2 separate regions of the Homo sapiens genome follow, and region 1 is linked to region 2. The links are contacts of gene promoters, found by promoter capture Hi-C in human tissues and cell types (Jung and others, 2019). All regions are on one chromosome and are shown on one strand. Each heading gives the region's core, a stretch centred on a gene start or on the middle of the fragment in contact. The rest is flanking DNA. Distances are from core to core; before and after follow the strand shown. Region 1 overlaps LOC105372593 (a long non-coding RNA gene). Region 2 holds the start of BPIFB6 (BPI fold containing family B member 6).

Region 1 (3,418 bases), core at 392-2,891, 220 kb after region 2:
AACCATAGCGGTGGACTTTCAGTTGTCGATTGTTGCTGGCTGTGGGGCACAAGCTTAACTGGCACAAGACTTCTGTCCACATTCCATTTTAAAAGGTCCTTTGCTATGATCATCCACAGGAGTGACAAACATTTGTCTCCTTCCAGGCAGCAAGCTGCTGTCATAGTTTTTGTTCCCACACAGGGGATTCTGTGATGGTTCAGTCACTCAGTTACCATTCTCCTGACCAGATGGCTAGGCTGTTGGCAATGGCCCTTGAGTCAGTGAAAATGTAACAAGATATGGTGGTAGAATGGCCCCCACAGCTGTCATCACTGCACATAATTCAGCTCATTAGGCAGAATGTCCAATTCCAATCCCAGCCAAAAGATGGCCATCTGCTGGCTGAGGGGCAGCTGCAGCCCAGTGGACCCCATTTGCCTTTAGTTTTGCAGAGCCATCAGTAAACCAGGTCATATAGTCAGTAGACACATCTTTGAATCTTGGGTCCCAGGTAGCCACAGGAGGGTTCAGAGCATCTCCCTGTGGGTTGCTTGGTGCTTCTGGGAAGCTGGCTATTTGTTCATGGAGTCTACTTGTCCTAGTTGACTTGGATGTACCATTTCCATTTAATGATTGAGCTCTGTTGAGCTTGTCCGGTTTTATTGGTGGGATTTGTAAGCACCCCAGTACAGGTTACAGCATCACAGGTGGCACTCCTGCCATAAAATGCTCAGTCTCCTCTAGTGCCCAATAGCAAGCAAGGAGTTGCCCTTCAAAGGGGGTGTATCTGGTGGCCACCACAGGCAAGTCATGTGTCCAATAGCCAAGAGGCTGGTGCACGCCAGTGGCAGTTTCCTGTTGCCACAGATTCCAATCAGCATGCTTGGCGGTCATGGACGCACGGAGTCCCATTGAGCTAGCAGGTTCCAAAGGTCCCAAAGGCAGTACCTGAGCCATGACTTGTTGAACTACTTCCAAGTCCTGCTGCTGCAAGGGGCCCCATTCAAAACTGGTGGTTTTGTGGGTCACCTTGACGAGGAAGGCCAAAAGAGCACCCAGACAGGGCATATGCTGTCTCCTGTATACAAATAGGCCTATCAGCTAATGGGCCTCCTGTTTATTAGTGGATGTCACTAGGGCCAACAATTGTACTGGGGATACTTTTTTGGTTTCCTATACAAATGACCCCTGGGACATGCACTTATTGTGCTGAGTCCTGGACTTTATCTGGATTTATAGTCCAGCCAACACCAGTTATTGTATCAATGGCCTGTTTTTCAGTAGGCCCTACTATCAGGATATCATTTATGCAATGGATGACTAAATCTTCTATGAGGACTTGGGCTTGTTGAGGGTCAAGCCCCACCCACTGGTGGCATATGGCAGGGGAATTGAGGTATCCCTGAGGAAGAATAGTGAAAGTATTATGCAGGCAGTTCCTTGTGAATGCAAATTGGTCACAAGGGGATTGAGTAAAAGCACTAACCAAGTTAATAACAGCACGCTAATCTCCAGTAAGGGTTCCCACTGCCTCAGTGACAGTGATGACATCTGACACCTCATGGGCCCAGGGCAAACCCCAACATTCAGCCTGCATTCCGTCTACCATCAGCCACCATACCCTGGAGGCTTTTCAATCAGCCAGACTGAGCTGTTACATTGACAGGGTAGTTTGTAACATTCCTACAGAAGCGCATCCCAAATTCACAGAGTAATATCCTCTTCTCCACTTGGTATGCAGTACTGTATTTGTGGAATAACCTACTGAGGCTTGGAGAATTTAAGTGGCAGGTAGAGTGGACACACCTCACTGTTACGGCTCAAATTCTCAGCTGTGAGGGGGAATATCCCCTCAGGCAGTGGTGATGTTCTGTGCTACAAGCAGCCAAAATATCAATGCCCGTAATGCACTCGACACAAGGAACCATGGTCACCAGCACTCAAAATGGCTCAAAGAGCCTCACTCGCAAGCACATAAGTACCACAAGCAGGTAAGCACCATGGATCACCATGTTAACCCCCAAACCATCCAATGACATCAGTTTAATTTTTCCCCTAAGGAAATCCAGAAATATTGTCATATGGGAACGAGTATCCACGAGCCCCAGAAAAGTCTGAATCTCTTTCTTTTCCCATTTATCTTGACAGGGGTATAAGATCATTGGTCTCCAGTGGGAAGCCAGGAGCCTTGGCCCCATTCCTAACTGTGCCATTCAACCTGAGACATTTGAGTCTGCAATATCCCTTTATCAAACAAACACACCATCCGGGCTGTATTAGACTTTCTGGCTTTTGTCCACATTTTCCCTTTTATTGTCAGATATCCTCTTCAGAGAATGACCTCATTTCAATAGTCTAGTTTTCAGCAATGCCTTCTGTTGTTCAGCACTTTTTGGAAACAGGCCTTACTTGAGGCCTGCAAGCAACCTGGACCAGGCAGGATTCCCTGCACAGGGCCCCCCATTCCCCCCAGACATCATCTGTGGTCCCTGGGACACCATGGGAGTTGACATTATGTTCCATTTATCCCTGGGCAGCGAGCACCTCAGTCAGTCTATGACCCCTCAGAGGAGCTGGTACCACCTTGGGCAATGGGGCTGACAAGCCCTTGCCTTTCCACCATGTGATGGTCTATTTCCTTGGCAACCCTGCACACTATGTCAAACTGTTAAGCTGAACGTCCTGCACCAGTGACCAGTCCCAGGGGAGAGGAACACCATGCACAGGTTACCAACCCTAGGAGAGGGCTCCAAACACTTCTGCCCATTTTATCTTGGTATGGGAGTCACCAAGGAAAATATAACACTTTACTTATGTAGAGAAGAGACAAAGCAAAATCAGCTTCAATCGTATGCATTTGTCCCCCATGCCAGCAGATCCCCCCAATAGCCAGTGCAAGGCAATTGGCTATGGACACCCCTCTCATGCCACGGATGGACTCTGACCCCTCTCCTGTGGAGTTAGAAATACCAAAAGCTGGGGGCATATCTGAGGGCCATTGACATATACACTTAAGCAGAACAAAGGGGCACACATTGAATCTAAAACAGGGAAATATATTCCCATGCAGGGCCTGGAACAGGCCACGTGAGCCCTTTATCTCTTGGTAAGGAAGTGTTCCAAGCCCAAGACCTGTTCTTATATGACTGAGTGGGAGTCGAAAGGCTGCATGCATGAGACTGGTTTTCCCAACACAATCATTAGCTGACCAGTAAGCTAACTAAGCAGACACAGCAGTAGCCACACATGACAAAGAATACAGACTTTACAGAATTTGTTCAGAAAAATCAGTAAACAAACAACTACAAGAACAAGTAACAACCAAAAACTCTGGAGTGGAGGGAGAATCCAATTTCTGAAACTGCCATGTTATATTATTTAAAATACCAGTGTTCAACAACAATAAAAAAATGAGATACGCAAAGAAAGAAGTATG
Region 2 (3,777 bases), core at 959-3,458:
CCCCCAACTGTGGAATTCTCCCCAGAGAGTGTCTTTTCCAGCTTTGTCATTTTACAGATGAGAAAACTGAGGCCCAGAGAGGGGAAGAGACTTGCCTGAGGTCACACAGTAAATGGGTGGCAGGGCCAGGGCTTGGATCTATGTCCTGACCCCCATCCAGTGCTTCCCACCTCACAGGTGATCACTAGGCATTGCAATTTTCCGATGCTGTAGGAGTAAGGAAAGATCAAGGAGACAGCAGATCCAATGGGTCTCCTTGGTCTCCATCTGAGGTTGAAGGGAGACTAGGGAGGGAAACCCCAGGCTCTGCTTTGTAAGAGCTCAGAGCCAAGCTGGGGCACCCAGGAGTGGGAGTATGTGCCAGGCAGAAAGAGGGAGGAAGGGACTTCTGGTGGGGGAAACCATGAGCAAAGGATGGGGGTGGTTGGGGGTAGCAGGAAACACTCATCACAGGTAGGGTGGATTATTTGCACGGTCAGGTTCAATTTGTGATTTTTGAGGCTCAGGGCAGTCGGGGGTTGAGGAAGGCTTCCTGGTAGATGAGGCAAGTGCTGAAATTAGGACTTGAGGGTTGAGTCAGTGATAGATGGATGGAGGGAAGGCATTCTAAAAGGGAGGGGCAGCTTAGGACAAGCACATTCAGAAACAAAACCCTAGCATTAGCCATTTGTCCCAGAGACACCCGCATGACCACGTTACCTGAAGCCACTTATTATTCTGAAAGGGCAAAAAAAGACCCTGCCCTGAGTGACCCTAACACCTGGCATCAGTTCTGGCCTGGGGACGGGAGACTGGGGTGAGGCTCAGTCACCCCGTCTGTGAGATGGGGCTGGGGCTGGAGGAGACCTTCACCAAGCCCCTCCCAGCTCTGTTGCCTGGCTCAGAATTTCACAGCCCCTTTGGGGATGATTTTTAAAGAGATTTGACATGGGGTGTGCCGGGACATGAGCACACGTCATGGCACGCACCTGTGCATTCACAGTGGTCGAGAAGCGCTACTGTGGATTATTTTAAGCCCAGATATATCTTCCATTTAGTGAATATTGACTATTGGCTTGAACACTTCTCGATACTTAAGCTCCTTTTCATCCCTCAGGTCTCAGCCTAAATGTTTCCTCCATAAGGAGTCCGTCCCTGACCCCTTTATCCCATATCCCACCCTATTGCTTCTCGTTCCCTGCCAGACTTTAGGATTTAGGAGGAGCAGGGCTGTCTCTGCCACCGAGATAAAAGAGACAAGCCCGGTCTGCTTGGCACAGAGAAGACACCCAATAGATGTGAGCCGAATGAATGAATGAGTGAATGAGTGAATGAATGCAGGCATTGGCTTGGACTGGGAAGGCAGGCCCATGGTAAGGGCCCATCTTAGTTTGTGCATTAGGTGAGCCCTCAGTGACTTAGCCCGCTGAGAGCAAGAGAGAGTCTGGTGGGAACCTCCTCTCTCTGGGTGGACATAGGCCCTGCTCCCATGGGCCCTGCCTTCATTCTTTTCAGCCAAAGCTCAAAACTGAAATATACACTTGGCCCTTGGTTGGAAGAGTTTCAGATCTTGGTAAGTAAGAGGGAAGGATTTCTATGGGCCCGGGGTGGGGTAGGGCTTTCCTGGGAACCTGAAAAGGTCTGGGGTGGGAGGTCCTTATGCTAGGAGACCTAATGTCTGTGCCTCAGTTTCTCTATCGGAGAGGCGATGTCTCAAGAGGCCTTTCAGGGCTCAGAGTTGAGCTTTCTGAGTTCCACATGGAAGTGAGCTGAGCTGGAAGAGGTGGGGAGGGACCCTGGCTGTAGGGTCAAGGTGGGGACACAGGGCTCCCCACTCCCACAATGCCGTGTGGGGCTCAAGGAAAGTCTGGAACTCTCTCTGTGGCTCCAGCATTCAGCCGTCCTTGAACCCATGAAAAACTGCAGTTGAACCTTCCTCCAACCCCATCTTGCAGGCTGGTCAGAACACACCATGTCCATGGGGAAACTGAGGCTTACAGAGGGAAATGAGCTAGCTGGGGGTGGCTGGAGGCCCTGTGTTTAATCTGGGGGTTCCTCAATCCCTTGGAAGAGGGCAGTGCTCATGTTTGCTGAACTGGCTGGAGTCTAAAGGCTCTTGGACCCCAGAAACACCCAGGGGGCTCAATCTGCTCTGAGACAGAAGGTCCCCAAGGGGACCAGGGTCTGGTGGGCTGCGCCCAATTCAGGCCCCTTGGCACAGGTGGTGCCATGCTGCGGATCCTGTGCCTGGCACTCTGCAGCCTGCTGACTGGCACGCGAGCTGACCCTGGGGCACTGCTGCGGTTGGGCATGGACATCATGAACCGTGGTGAGCTTGTGGGCCCGGGCGTGCAGCTGGGAGGCGGTGCTTGGGGTAGGTGGTAGGTAGTCACTGCTCTTGGTTGCACATCCTGGAGCATCCCGTGAGCTCCAAGTAAACTTATAAGCAAGTGTTATTATTATTCTCCCACTTTACAGAGGGGAGAAACCAAGGACCAGAGAAAATGGGATGATTTTCCCATGCTCCCCCTGCAAGTTAGAGGCAGAGCTGAAAATCCTGCTCCTTTGGAGTCTCTCCTTGGCCCTGATGGCAGGGGTTTTAGCCACAAGTGGGCTGTGGGAGTGACAGACAAGGGTCAAATCCCAGCAACAACTTGCTGTGTGACCTCAGGCAAGTTACTTGGCCTCCCTGTGTTGCTGTTTGCTCATCTGTAAAGGTGAAATGTAAAGAAATGTAAAATAGGGTGACCAGTCTGTCCCTAGCAGGATAGAATAATCTCTTGGAGGAGACCTTAGTAAAATGTGTTTTCCACCTCCATCCCCCACTCCACTAGCACAAGGGAAACCGAGTCACATCCAGGTACAAAAGGCTAATGACTGTTCTACCAGCTCAGTGTTTGTGCCCTCTCTGGAATTAGCTTGTGACCATAATGGAGGTGTTTCTGGCGGGGTGTTACTTGGGGTTGGGTCCTCCAGGTTTGGGGAATCAGAATTTCTCTGCTTCAGGCCCAAAGTCTGCATTCAAGTCCCCAGAGGAGTCCCCTAATCACCTAGGCTTGGGAGTGGCTGGTCCACAGGATAAAGTCAGTACCCTAGGGTTCAAGAGCTTCACTACATGCCCCCTGCAAACTGCTCCAGTTTCTCTGTCGTGTCTGTCCTCACCCTCCAGCCATGCTGAATCTATCCTCTTCCCCCAACTGTGCCACCTTCTCTCCCACCCACCTTTGCACTTGCTGTGCCCTCTGTCCAGACTGATATCTTTTATCCCTTTGCTTCCTGCTGAAAATTACTATTCCCCTTTCAAGTACCAACTGATCTGTCACCTCCTCCTGGAAGCCTTCCCCAGCTCTTCTCTTCCTACCTAAACCCTCGTGCGGCTCCTACAGCTTGTTACTGTCATTGCTGGTGACTCCATCTTCCCCCATTAGGCTGGGGCGCTGTGGGACTCATCTCTGGGTCTCTGCCATCGTCCAGCCCAGGGTGGGGCACAGTGACGGTGAGTGGCCTGGGATACCTGAGTGATTGGCCCAGGGAAAATCTCTCCAACTAAGTGTCTCCACTCCAGAGGTCCAGAGCGCCATGGATGAGAGTCATATCCTGGAGAAGATGGCAGCCGAGGCAGGCAAGAAACAGCCAGGGATGAAACCTATCAAGGGCATCACCAAGTGAGTAGGGGAGGGGAGCTGGAGGGTGGTGGTTAGGGCAGAGGGTGGTGGGGATTGCTGTGCCCAAGATCTTAGCAGGCCAGGTAATGGAGCTGGTGAGGGATGTGGGGTCTCTTCCCTGCCTTGTGCTGTC

The links. Contacts are between HindIII fragments. The study calls those that stand out against the background at their distance.
Region 1: a fragment that was not itself captured here is called in contact with the fragment with the promoter of BPIFB6 in region 2 in 2 of the 25 tissues and cell types used here (lymphoblastoid cells and spleen).

The regions. Positions count from the first base shown.
Region 1 is chr20:33,249,432-33,252,849 of GRCh38, forward strand. All of the region lies in intron 1 of LOC105372593 (a long non-coding RNA gene), which reads right to left. Among named protein-coding and RNA genes, the nearest start is that of BPIFA1, 15 kb to the left of the region's middle. The HindIII fragment of the contact is 7,810 bases long and covers 1-3,418 here.
Region 2 is chr20:33,029,440-33,033,216 of GRCh38, forward strand. It overlaps BPIFB6 (BPI fold containing family B member 6), which reads left to right and starts at 2,209. Exons shown (of 15, transcript NM_174897.2): 1 at 2,209-2,305; 2 at 3,545-3,644. The coding sequence starts at 2,209. The HindIII fragment of the contact is 18,408 bases long and covers 1-3,777 here.